3 separate regions of the Homo sapiens genome follow, and regions 2 and 3 are each linked to region 1. Evidence: promoter capture Hi-C in human tissues and cell types (Jung and others, 2019). All regions are on one chromosome and are shown on one strand. Each heading gives the region's core, a stretch centred on a gene start or on the middle of the fragment in contact. The rest is flanking DNA. Distances are from core to core; before and after follow the strand shown. Region 1 holds the start of EIF3D (eukaryotic translation initiation factor 3 subunit D). Region 2 has its middle 20 kb from the start of PVALB. Region 3 overlaps APOL1 (apolipoprotein L1).

Region 1 (4,323 bases), core at 1,359-3,858:
TCACCAATTCATACAAACTCAACTTCCCTAAGACTTAGTAGTCTTTTCTTTCTTTCTTTTTTTTTTTTGAGACAGAGTCTCACTTTGTCACCCATGCTGGGGTGCAGTGGCGTGCAACTTCCGCCTTCCGAGTTCAAGCGATTCTCCTGCCTCAGCCTCCTGAGTAGCTGGGATTACAGGCAAGCGCCGCCTGGCTATTTTCTGTGTTTTTAGTGGAGACAGGGTTTCACCATGTTGTCCAGGCTAGTCTTGAACTCCTGACCTCAAATGATCCTCCCGCCTCGACCTCCCAAAGTGCTGGGATTACAGGCGTGAGCCACCACGTCCAGCCACCTTAGTCTTTTCCATCTGCAAAATAAACAAGATCCTTGTTCTAAGCACTTTGTATAATGCCACACAAGTATTCAGACTTGCAAAAGTGCATTTATGTATATAGAGTGCTGAGAAAAAAAGATCTTTAAGTATATCCTGAAATTCAATTTTCCTTTCTCATTGTTTCAATTTTCTGCCATCAACGCAAATCCTGTGTGCAGTGCAAGCGGACATAAAGCCAGGCAGAAGAACTGCCAGAGGGCCAAGGAGGTCCCCACAGACCTCAGGCCCAAAGTTGCCATGTTAAATGTTCATGAATACTGCCAGGCACTGTTCTTACTGTTTACCACTCATTCATTCATACAGTCCTGCCAACAATCCTGTGAGGTAGGAGCCAATGTTATCCGCACTCTCCAGATAAGAAAACCAAAGCACAGAGAAATGAAGAAATTGCCCAAAGTTGAAATGCTAGTGGATGAAAAACGTGAACCAAAGCAGTCTGACCCCAGAGTCTGCACTCTGCATAATGCTATAGCCCTCTTGGGAATTAAAAAACCGGCGCTGTATAGCAGATGGCTGCCCGACACTTCTATAAAAAAACCTATGCATTTATCTTCCGTTGTAACCTTCTGAAAATGCTTAGAAGGCGAGTTCCTAGAGGAAAATTCACTACACAAGTATTTCTTGGAGGCCGGGCGCGGTGGCTCACGCCTGTAATCCCAGCACTTTGAGAGGCCGAGGTGGGCGGATCACGAGGTCAGCAGTTCGAGACCAGCCTGGTCAACATGGTGAAACCCAGTCTCTACTAAAAATACAAAAATTAGCTGGGCGTGGTGGCGGGCACCTGTAATACCAGCTACTCAGGAGGCGGAGGTTGCAGTGAGCCAAGATCCTGCCATTACACTCCAGCCTGGGCAACAGAGCAAGACTCCGTCTCAAAAAAACAAAAATCAAATGTTTCTTGGAGGCTGGAGAGCAATCAAAAGAACAGGTATGCTGAACTTAGTAAACTCTCCTCAAAGCCCCATGCTGGGGAGATTGAGGCTTCCTTCAGAGATGACATTTGGGTGACAGCAACACAGGATGAACCTAGAAGTTTCATCTTTCTAATAGAAACTATAGGAAGAGGACAGAAGAAAAAGGGTGGTGGTCTCAGAACAATTTGTATTAAATAAATATTGCTGAGCTCCTACGTGTTAGGCCCTATACCAGATAATTTAACACCATTGACCACCCCCCCACCCCTACTTTAGAGGCAAAAATTTGAAGCTCAGCCTACTCAAGCAGCTGACCTCATCATTTCAAAACAGATTTGATTTCCAGGGTTGCCTGCTGTCAGTCCAGCCTTCTTTCCATTATATTACAGCTGGGCAGCAGCCCGCAAAGATCAGGGGTTTGAGACCGTACATCATAATACCAAGACAACGAGTCTCAAAACACACTTTAAAAAATCGGGTTCTGTCAGAAGCTCAAGAAGGGAAGAGGCCCGAGGCTCGACCTGCATCACCTCCCTGGAAAGCCAGGGATGAGATACCCTGGCTTTAATAAATGTTTTTTTTTTTAAGAGCAGAGCGGAACCAGGAGGAGAAACTGAGCCGCTCAGCAAAAACGAAGTAACAGCTGTACTAGTCACAGGGGCAGGATAGGGAGGTTCCAAGAGGGCACTCAGAAGGGGCTCTGTGGTTGGCAGGCCACTACAGATCATAAGCCGTCCATCGCTGAACAGGGGGTGGGGTAGATTTAAGATCAGAGATCAAATCTACTTCTCTATCCTAGCCTCCAGTTTCACAAAAAAGGAAAGATAACCTATGCACTGTGAATTCCTAAGAACAGGGGCCAAACACCGCTCAGCCTGGTACCCCTAAGACCTCACTCAAAAAGTCAGGGAGTTTTCGGCCACTTCAGAAAGACTTTGTTGTTACCCCTCCGTCTTAACCCAGGTGAGTTAAGTGACAATCAAATTCACCCAGCTCATGGGCACTGAGCAGGGCCGAGGGCCAAGGACCTCACCCACAAGGTCGTGTCCCGCGTTCAGTAGCGTGCGGGACGCGGGGCCCCCGAAAGTGGATTCCTGCCCCGCCCAGCGGAGGGACGGCAACAGCAGGAAGGGACTAAGAGAGGTCTCTTCCGGGAGGCCCCCCGAAGGCTGGACCTAGTCCGAACCGGCTCCGGAGGGCCGCAGGAACCTATGAAACACGCCGCTCACCTGCAATGGCCTCGGCCGGCCGGGATGGCAACAGATGGTGCGTGCCGGGGACCGCGTTAGCAGCAGCACTCTTGAGAAACCAGGAAAAGAGGAAACATGCGCGCGCAGCGGGCGCCGCCGTAAACACGACCGGCGCTGTCGTAAACTGCTCTCCCGCTTCCTCTGGGTTGGGCGGAAGAACTCACGAGCCGTAAAGCGAAGGTCCACCCGGAAATCCGTTACTGCGTTTCGCCAGGCGTCCTCATTAGCCTCCGAGGCGCCGAGACGCGAGAGGTGTGATTGGCACTACGTCAGGCGGTATCCGGGGACGCCCAAAGAGGGCGTTCATCACTGAAACTTGGCGGCCGCGCAATCGAAGCTCGAGGCGGGGAGCGACTGGCGCCCTTCTGTGTCCCACAATGCTTCGCGGCGCGCCTCAGCCCCCATGTATCCCACCGTCACCCGCGACTCCCCGCCTGTTCTACCTGCCTGCTTAATGTGAAACTCAGCGCAGGGGAGGTCCGTCGGTGTCTTAGGCGGTCCTTATTGTTACTCCTCCGCCTTTATAGTTGTGGAAACTGAGGCTCAGAAGTGCCAAGTGACCTGCCTAGATCAGACTGTTAGTTTAGGGTTCTAACCGCCAGAGTTCAAACCATACTTCCGCAGTTCTCAAACTTAATTGTAGGACAGGGATTTCTGGAACAGTGTTTTTATTTATTTTTATTTATTTTTTGAGACAGGGTTTCGCTCTGTCGCCCAGGCTGAAATGTAGTGGCAGGATCACGGCTTATTGCACCCTCGACTTCTCAGGTACAAGCGATCCTCCCAGTTCAGCCTCCCGAGTCGTTGGTGTACACAGGCACGCACAACCACGCCTGCCTAATTTTTGTATTTTTGGTAGAGATGGGGTTTTGCTATGTTGCTCAGGCTGGTCTCAAACTCCTGAGCTCAACAGTCCACCCACTGGGGCTAGGGTTACAGGCATGAGTCACCGTACCCGGCCAGCTAATGATTTTTAAAAATTTTGTAGAGACAGCGTCTCACTATGTTGCCCGGGCTGGTCTTTAACTCCTGGTCTAAAGTGGTCCTCTCGCCTCAGCGTGCGGAGCAGCTGAGGCTACAGGTGCATGCCACCATGCCTGGCTAATTTTTTTTTTTAGACGGAGTCTTGCTCTGTCTTCCAGGCTGGAGTGGAGTGCAGTGGCGCTATCTCAGTTCACTGCAACCTCCGCATCCCAGGTTCAGGTGATTCTCCTGCTTCAGTCTCCCGAGTAGCTGGGATTGCAGGCGTGTACCAACATGCCCGGCTAATTTTCCTTTTAGTAGAGACGGGGTTTCACCTTGCTGACCAGGCTGGTCTCGAACTCCTGACCTCAGGTGATCTACCCACCTCGGCCTCCCAAAGTGCTAGGATTACAGGCGTGAGCCACTGCGTCCGGCTGCCTGGCTAATTAAAAAAAAAAAAAAAAACTTCTGTGGAGACGAAGTCTCATCATGTTGCCAAGGCTAGTCTCAAACTCCTGGGCTCAAGCAGTCCTCCTGTCTCGGTCTCCCAAAGTGCTGGGATTACGGGCGTGAGCCACCACACCTGACCAGGATAGTATTTTTAAAAATTCAGATTCTGGGTCTCATTTTGATAGATTATACGGATATGTTTATGCTGGAGCCCAAGAGCTCCGCATTAGCTGTGATTCTGAAGTGACGACTCAGGAACTGCTTTACTACAGTAGATAACAGTGCTGTCCTCTCAGCAACTCCCAGGCTATGGAGTTCCTCCTGGTGTCTTTCTTTCGGAATTTTAAAACAATGAAAGATAATCTGAGGGC
Region 2 (4,323 bases), core at 1,105-3,604, 310 kb after region 1:
TAACCAGAAAGTAATGTACCTCCCCCTGCCCTGGCTCTGATGTTGTAGGTCTAGTCCTTTCCCTAGTCCTGGAGGAAATCTTTTTACTCAGGTAATAAAAAGCTTTCCGTGCTGGTGGCCACACATATCTGTCAGTTAGATAACTAGCATGTCCAGTCTTGTTTAATAATCAAAACCCCAAACTCTGTTCAGAGGTAAAGCTTTGCCCCTGGCCTAGCTGGAGCCTGGTGTGAGGGGAACCTGTGGTGGGAAAGGGGGACGTGTCACCACCTTGAGCTTCCAGTGGCAGCCAAAATCCTAGCTGAGTGCAGTCATATGAGTGACCCCAGATGGCACCAGCAGCAGCAAAGCGACTATCCGGCTACCAACCTGAAGAGTCCTTACAGATAATCTACCATTGAAGATTGATGTTTAGGGTGGGTTTTCCATGGTAATAGACCATTGAACTACACCTAACAGTTTCTCTTTAGGGTTGGGGATCATAGTACCCCAAGAGCTCTCTCTAAAGAACAACCTGCATACTTCGACTTCTCTACCTCTGCAATTTTAACCCTTTTATACCTTCCAATGCATGAAAAGCCAAGAGCCATGAAACTGGTTTTTTACCTTCTCCTTTGCAAGTCCAGCATGAGGGGTCTAGAACAGGGCTTAGCAAACTATAGTCTGTGGCCAAATGAGCCATGGCCCACAAAACCTGTTTGCTATCTGGCCCTTTAAGAAAAAAATGTCCCGTTTGAAATATGCAGGCAACAGTGTCTGATGGGCAAGGCTCGTGTCTGGTGCTCATCTGTATCAGTCCGCATGGACTCAGTTGTGCTGCAGTAACAAACAATCACGCAAGTTTCAGGGACTGGAATCTCACTTTGGAATGTGAGAACAGGTGGCAGCTCTTATCATAGACCCTCAGCTAAAACTGAGATGGAAATAATTGCATTATAACAGACCGTTACAGATGTTTGATGAATAGAGCATTCCATGGCCAAATACATTCAAGAAATGCACTGTGGATCACCCCTGTAATCCCAGCCCTTTGGGACGCTGAAGTGGGCAGATTATCTGAGGTCAGGAGTTCAAGACCAGCCTGGTCAACATGGTGAAACCCCATCTGTACTAAAAATACAAAAATTAGCTGGGCATGGTGGCATGAGCCTGTAATCCCAGCTACTCGGGAGGCTGAGGCAGGAGAATCGCTTGTACCCAGGAGGTGGAGGTTGCAGTGAGCCGAGATTGTGCCACTGCACTCTAGCCTGGGTGACCGGGCGAGACTCTGTCTCAAAAAAAAAAAAAAAAAAAAAGAAATACACAATGGAAAAATAAAAGGCAAACAAGATTCTTTCATTGAGCCTTCTCTCCAAGGTGGGAAGAAGAGGCCTGTAACGTCCTATTGTCCTATAGCTCCTGGACCCTTTCAGCTGGAGCATCCCCCGTGACAACTGGGGAACTCCTGTTGCCAGATGCAGGATGGTGGACGTGAGAGAGGCAGCTGGAGCCAGGCAGAGTTTCTCCACCCTGTGTCTTCATCTTAGCCTTTCTGCCCTCTTTCTTCCTTAGAGTTATCTGGCTGTCTGCTCATCTGGTCATAAACCGTTTTGTTCATATTAGGCCATGAGAAATGTGCAGTTCTTGGGTGGGGGGAGATGAGGAGGGAGGCTGGGGATTTTGCTTTTGAAGAATGCAAGGAAAGGACAAAGTTGAATCTAGTGATCTCACTTTCTTTCTCTTTTGTCACCATCAAAGCTGTGATTTGCCACTTAGCCCCCTCGAAACAGTTTCGTGGTTTGCTGGAGTTACTTCTGAGCAGATTTATTTATGATCAGAAGGAATATTTTATACCAGGAGGAAATTAATTCTGCTCAGCCTTCCTGCACATTCCTTTGACATGACAGGCTCCTCTTTTGAGGGCTGTTTTAACCTCTAGCTTCTCCCTTTGATATATTCAGGAGGCCCCAAAAATGCTGAGCCATCATCCTCACTCCTGATGGCCTTGCCATCATTCTGAGAACTAAAAAAGAATTAAATTGCAGTGGAAATGGTCACAGAATGCTCTTTTCTCTTTGGAAAGCTAATGTTAATTTGGAGTGAGATTTATGTAGGAAGCTTAAGGAATCTGTTAAAAGAAACATTGAGTTGATTTTCTAATTGACCACCATGTTGCATTTACATGTGTGACATCTGCAGATGCTCCAATAGTACGACTACACACATAAAGCTTTAGTGATTTGGTGATTGCCAAAAAGGCAGTATTTTTTCTGATTGGCATAATTTCTACCTCCAATTTACTGGAACACTGGGCATGACTGAGACGCCTTTTTAGTGATGTCTGCTGTTCTGCATGTTCAATAAACATAAAATTGAGAGGCTTGGCCATGGTTGTGTATGTGCAGCATCTGTGATCCAAGTGGAATTTAATGGTGGAATTGGGGCTTAACAATGGAATCCTGGGAGTGATATTTGGGCCTCAGGGCCCTTACTCTGCAGAAATGAGTGATGGGGCCTGTATTAGTCCATTTTCACACTGCTGATAAAGACATACCTGAGACTGGACAATTTACAAAAGAAAGAGGTTTATTGGACTCACAGTTCCACATGGCTGGGAGCCCTCAGAATCATGTCAGAAGGTGAAAGGCACATCTCATATGGAGGCAGACAAGAGAAGAGGACTTGTGCAGGGAAACTCCCCTTTACAAAACCATCAGATCTCGTGAGACTTATTCACTATCATGAGAATAGCAGGGGAAAGATGCGACCCCATGATTCAATTATCTCTCACTGGTCTCTCACACAACACATGGGAATGATGGGAGCTGCAATTCAAGATGAGATTTGGATGGGGACACAGCCAAACCATATCAGAGCCTATTCATATGGAGCCGACTCTGTGTGTGTGTGGTGTGTGTGTGTGGGGGGGGGGGGTGGTGTGTGTGTGTGTGTGTGTGGGTGGTGTATGTCTGTGTGTTTGTATGTGCGTGTGGGCAGTGTGTGGGGGCAGTGTGTGTGTGTGTGTCTGTGTATGTGTGTGTGTGTGGTGTATGTATGTGTATGTGTGTGTGTGATGTGTGTGTGGGGGGGTGGTGTGTGTGTATGTGTGTGTCTGTGTGTGTGTGGTGTGTGTGTGTCTGTGTGTGTGTGTGTGAGTAAGGTTGTCAAGTTAGCAACTGGTCAGGCTCCTCCTGGGCTGGTCCCTGCCTGTCTTCAACACCACCTGGGTGGTCCCTGCCTGTCTTCAACACCACCTAGGTGGTCCCTGCCTGTCTTCAACACCACCTGGGTGGCGTGTGTGTCTCACGGCTGTTATGCTGCCTGAGCCTGTGTGTGACTGGAGCAGGAGCTGGCATTTCTCCAGCCCCTGTTGTCCGCCAGGTGTTTTGTGATGCTTTCTAATTGTTTCTCCTGGGAGCCTCCTCGCAAGCTGGTGCTGGGCTGCACTTTTGGCCAGCCTCGGTGTGCTGGCCAGTTCAACTCAGGAGCCTTCAGCACTGAGGGCCAGCCCCAGTCTGCGGTGTCTGCCCAGGACGGCCAGTCCCTGCCAATCCGGCAGGTCCTCAGAGGCCAGGCTGAGCAGCTGGGGCCTTGCAGCAGGACACAGGGTCACAGCTGGACCCAAGCAGAGAGCCTGCTGGGCCTGAGTGTCCAGGTGTGAGGGAAGGGCTTCCTCCCTCCAGAGAACAGGGATGCAGGTTCCAGCCAGGTAGACCTTCCTGCTTTGTGAGTGTGTCCAGAGCAGGGAGAGTTTCACCCACAAACCCAATATGTGACAGGAGCAGCATAGGGCATACCCACTCTGCTCACTCAAAGGATCCCCAGGAGCTGCTCTGGGGTGCCTGAATTCTCACCATCACAGGCTGGAGTGCAGTGGTGCTATCTCGGCTCATTGCAACCTCCGCCTCCCAGGTTCAAGCTATTCTCCTGCCTCAGCCTCCTGAGTAGCTGGGACTACAGGCATGCACCACCATGCCCTGCTATTTTTTTTCTTTCTTTTTTTTTTTTTTTTTGGTAGAGACGGGGTTTCATCACGTTGGCCAGGCTGGTCTCAAACTCCTGACCTCAGGGGATCCGCCTGCCTCGGCCTCTCAAAGTGCTAGGATTACAGGCATGAGCCACTGCGCCCGGCCCATCAGTTCTTTTTCACCATCAATCCACGTCTGACCTTTCCTGTGCCTAAGCTGTCATAGAGGGTAAATGCAAACCAAACACACTTCAGATGGAAAACACCTCACCCTTCTCCCAATTCTCAAACCTTGACTCACTTCCCATAGCACATGGAGGAGAATGCTAGCATCTTCCCACAACTCGCTCCACCTCTCCTCCCACCCAGCCCTTCCT
Region 3 (4,323 bases), core at 465-2,964, 260 kb before region 1:
AGCGTCAGAGCCTGGAGTCAGGATGGAGCAAGAGTCAGCCTTGGTTGTAGGACAAGCAGGAAGGCTGGGGCACCAGGGCTGGGACTAGGGTGTGGAAAGAGAGGCACCAAGGGCTTGAAACTTAAGGAGGTCATGAACTTGCAGAGGACATGTGAGTGGGAGAGGGATATTTCTTCCCTGTCTGGATGATCCCAACACTCATGGGCATATAGGGTCATGGTTGCCTGTGTCTCTCACACCACGCCTTGGAACTGGCAAGTTCTGGGCTACCCTTTGAGACCTTCTTCTCTTCTACACAGAGAAACCCCTGACATTGACAAGCAGTATGTCTTAGTGACCATTTTCATAGTAGAATTAGTTGCTGCCAATTTGTGTAATTTCAGGGATACTGAGCAGACTCACAACTTCCCAACCAAGGAGGAAAACACTTCCTCTACCATCTTGTCCAAATTCAGGTCTTTTCAGCATTAGCAATTTATATAGGTGGTTCTGAAAGTGTTTTGAATCTTCTAGAGGTTCCATAAAATTGCAAATGGCCTTGGTGTGCACACAGGTGAAGCTGTCACTACTAAGGCATCAGTTAGGCTGGTGACACCTGCGAGTGAGACCTGGAAGGTTGGGGGTGCAGGTGGTAGGTCAGGAGGCAGTAAGGTGGCTGGAGCGTCCATGTGGAGCCAGAATGAATAGCCAGATCTCCCACTCCAGTCAGCTGGGGCAGTGGCCAGAACCAGTAGCCTTCAGCCAGGTGAAAGGGCATGAGGCATTGGAAGGGAGCAGATGCCAGGCAAAGTGAACTCCTGTCTCTCCGGGGTTTTGTTTTTGTTTGAATTCAAAGTACTCAGAGATAGCCAGACTGCAATGTCTGAGGGCACCCTTACCTTTGACACCACCTGCAAATTTAAGGGGATTTCTAAATCCATCCTTTGATTTTGTAATTCACTGGAAGGACTCACATAACTCACTGAAAACTGCTATTTCACAATTGTGGTTGATCACACGGAAAGAACACAGATTAAAATCAGCCTAAGAAAGAGACACACGGGGCAGAGTTTGGGAGGGTTTTAAGTGTGAAGCTTCATTGTCCTCAGGACGCTGTGTTCTCCTGTGTGAATGTGGGACAAAACACATGCGGTGTTGCCAACCAGGGAAGCTCACCCAGTTAAGGAAAAATTCCTGTGAATCACATTAAACCAGAAATGAAGCCTTTTTTCAGGATTGTTGTTACAGGGGAGGGAGACTGAGCCCAGCTCCAAATATAGTAAAGACAGAGGGGGAGTCACAGCCAACACCAGGGTGGGGGCGGGAGATGGAACAGGACTGATAGGAGACACCAGAGTGGGGGGTTCCTGCTAAATTGGCCTAACAGGATTCTCACTAAAGGCAGGTCAGACACTCACCCATCAATGGTGGGGGTGAAGAGCATAATCAGATAGCAAAGCGTAATCAGACAGCAAGGGGGGAAGACCCTCCCTAAACTGACTTGGGGAGATTCTTGCTGAGCTGGGTGGTGCAGGTCCAGCAAGCAGTGGGTGGCTGTGGAAGGCCAAGGTCGGCGCCTAGTGGAGAAGAGGCTCAGAAGAGCCCAGCTGGAGTTGGTCAAGGAGAAAGTCCTTCTTTCTCAACCCATGCCTTAGTGTCCAGAGTATCTGCTGGGGCTGGATCACAAGCTGCCCTCATGGCTGACCTGGAGTCTCCAGCCCCTCCCTGAGGTCTAACCCCTTTAGTCCCCGGGTCCTCTGGGATCAGGAAAGACACCAAATAGCCCCAAACCCCATCATCCATCAGATTCCTATACGGTCCCGTGGCCAAATCACCAGGCAAAGACAGATGTTCCTACCAGGCAGGACATTCCAGGGGCCTGGAGATCACTTCCCAGGAGCTGAGGACAAAGGGAAGGCCTCTCTTTGGGTAAAGTTCATGCTTCACTTTCCTGCCATCCTGGGAATAAGGTCTCTTTGTCTCACTCTCACTGCTCTTTGTTCATCTGCAGAGTTTTCCCTCTCCAAACACTTTGGCAGTCACGGTGTTGACCTGCCCTTGAATGAGGAGGCATCTTTATCAAACACCTACCATGAAAGAGCATCTGAGATGCCTTTAAGATATTTATTTCCATATGGAATAAATATTGAGGAGTATCTATGATGAACAAAATGTGTTTGAGTTTGAAAGATAATTAATTCCATTTGTAAAATTTGTTTCTATTTGATCGATAGTGAAAGCTCTGCAATTTACACAGGATAGAGATCACATGGAGCTCATTTCACAGACAGGGAAACTGCATTTCTTTTTTTTTTTTTTTTTTTTGAGTTGGAGTCTTGCTCTGTCGCCCAAGCTGGAGTGCAGTGGCGCGATCTCGGCTCACTGCAAGCTCTGCCTCCCGGTTCAAGCAATTCTCCTGCCTCAGCCTCCTGAGTAGCTGGGACTACAGGCGCCCACCACCACGCCCGGCTAATTTTTTGAATTTTTGGTAGAGACAGGGTTTCACCGTATTAGTCAGGATGGTCTCAATCTCCTGACCTTGTGATCCACCCGCCTTGGCCTCCCAAAGTGCTGGGATTACAGGTGTGAGCCACCACACCGAGCCAAAACTGCATTTCTTAATCCTTTAACCTTTCCTTGTGCAGGAATGAGGCAGATGAGCTCCGTAAAGCTCTGGACAACCTTGCAAGACAAATGATCATGAAAGACAAAAACTGGCACGATAAAGGCCAGCAGTACAGAAACTGGTTTCTGAAAGAGTTTCCTCGGTTGAAAAGTGAGCTTGAGGATAACATAAGAAGGCTCCGTGCCCTTGCAGATGGGGTTCAGAAGGTCCACAAAGGCACCACCATCGCCAATGTGGTGTCTGGCTCTCTCAGCATTTCCTCTGGCATCCTGACCCTCGTCGGCATGGGTCTGGCACCCTTCACAGAGGGAGGCAGCCTTGTACTCTTGGAACCTGGGATGGAGTTGGGAATCACAGCCGCTTTGACCGGGATTACCAGCAGTACCATGGACTACGGAAAGAAGTGGTGGACACAAGCCCAAGCCCACGACCTGGTCATCAAAAGCCTTGACAAATTGAAGGAGGTGAGGGAGTTTTTGGGTGAGAACATATCCAACTTTCTTTCCTTAGCTGGCAATACTTACCAACTCACACGAGGCATTGGGAAGGACATCCGTGCCCTCAGACGAGCCAGAGCCAATCTTCAGTCAGTACCGCATGCCTCAGCCTCACGCCCCCGGGTCACTGAGCCAATCTCAGCTGAAAGCGGTGAACAGGTGGAGAGGGTTAATGAACCCAGCATCCTGGAAATGAGCAGAGGAGTCAAGCTCACGGATGTGGCCCCTGTAAGCTTCTTTCTTGTGCTGGATGTAGTCTACCTCGTGTACGAATCAAAGCACTTACATGAGGGGGCAAAGTCAGAGACAGCTGAGGAGCTGAAGAAGGTGGCTCAGGAGCTGGAGGAGAAGCTAAACATTCTCAACAATAATTATAAGATTCTGCAGGCGGACCAAGAACTGTGACCACAGGGCAGGGCAGCCACCAGGAGAGATATGCCTGGCAGGGGCCAGGACAAAATGCAAACTTTTTTTTTTTTCTGAGACAGAGTCTTGCTCTGTCGCCAAGTTGGAGTGCAATGGTGCGATCTCAGCTCACTGCAAGCTCTGCCTCCCGTGTTCAAGCGATTCTCCTGCCTTGGCCTCCCAAGTAGCTGGGACTACAGGCGCCTACCACCATGCCCAGCTAATTTTTGTATTTTTAATAGAGATGGGGTTTCACCATGTTGGCCAGGATGGTCTCGATCTCCTGACCTCTTGATCTGCCCACCTTGGCCTCCCAAAGTGCTGGGATTACAGGCGTGAGCCATCGCTTTTGACCCAAATGCAAACATTTTATTAGGGGGATAAAGAGGGTGAGGTAAAGTTTATGGAACTGAGTGTTAGGGACTTTGGCATTTCCATAGCTGAGCACAGCAGGGGAGGGGTTAATGCAGATGGCAGTGCAGCAAGGAGAAGGCAGGAACATTGGAGCCTGCAATAAGGGAAAAATGGGAACTGGAGAGTGTGGGGAATGGGAAGAAGCAGTTTACTTTAGACTAAAGAATATATTGGGGGGCCGGGTGTAGTGGCTCATGCCTGTAATCCGAGCACTTTGGGAGGCCAAGGCGGGCGGATCACGAGGTCAGGAGATCGAGACCATCCTGGCTAACACAGTGAAACCCCGTCTCTACTAAAAATACAAAAAATTAGCCGGGCATGGTGGCGGGCGCCTGTAGTTCCAGCTAACTGGGCGGCTGAGGCAGGAGAATGGCGTGAACCTGGGAGGTGGAGCTTGCAGTG

The links. The method cuts DNA at HindIII sites, captures the fragments that hold promoters and counts their contacts. A contact is called where the count stands out against the background at its distance.
Region 2: a contact is called between a fragment that was not itself captured here and the fragment with the promoter of EIF3D in region 1, in 2 of the 25 tissues and cell types used here (IMR-90 fibroblasts and lymphoblastoid cells).
Region 3: a contact is called between a fragment that was not itself captured here and the fragment with the promoter of EIF3D in region 1, in 4 of the 25 tissues and cell types used here (dorsolateral prefrontal cortex, lymphoblastoid cells, mesendoderm cells and 1 more).

The regions. Positions count from the first base shown.
Region 1 is chr22:36,526,558-36,530,880 of GRCh38, forward strand. EIF3D (eukaryotic translation initiation factor 3 subunit D) reads right to left here and starts at 2,609. Exons shown (of 15, transcript NM_003753.4): 1 at 2,519-2,609. RefSeq lists enhancers at 2,120-2,169, 2,480-2,879. The HindIII fragment of the contact is 12,569 bases long and covers 1-4,323 here.
Region 2 is chr22:36,835,297-36,839,619 of GRCh38, forward strand. No RefSeq gene overlaps it. Among named protein-coding and RNA genes, the nearest start is that of PVALB, 20 kb to the left of the region's middle. The HindIII fragment of the contact is 4,407 bases long and covers 152-4,323 here.
Region 3 is chr22:36,262,527-36,266,849 of GRCh38, forward strand. APOL1 (apolipoprotein L1) reads left to right here. Exons shown (of 6, transcript NM_003661.4): 6 at 2,625-4,323. The coding sequence ends at 3,507. Among named protein-coding and RNA genes, the nearest start is that of APOL1, 12 kb to the left of the region's middle. The HindIII fragment of the contact is 4,952 bases long and covers 1-4,190 here.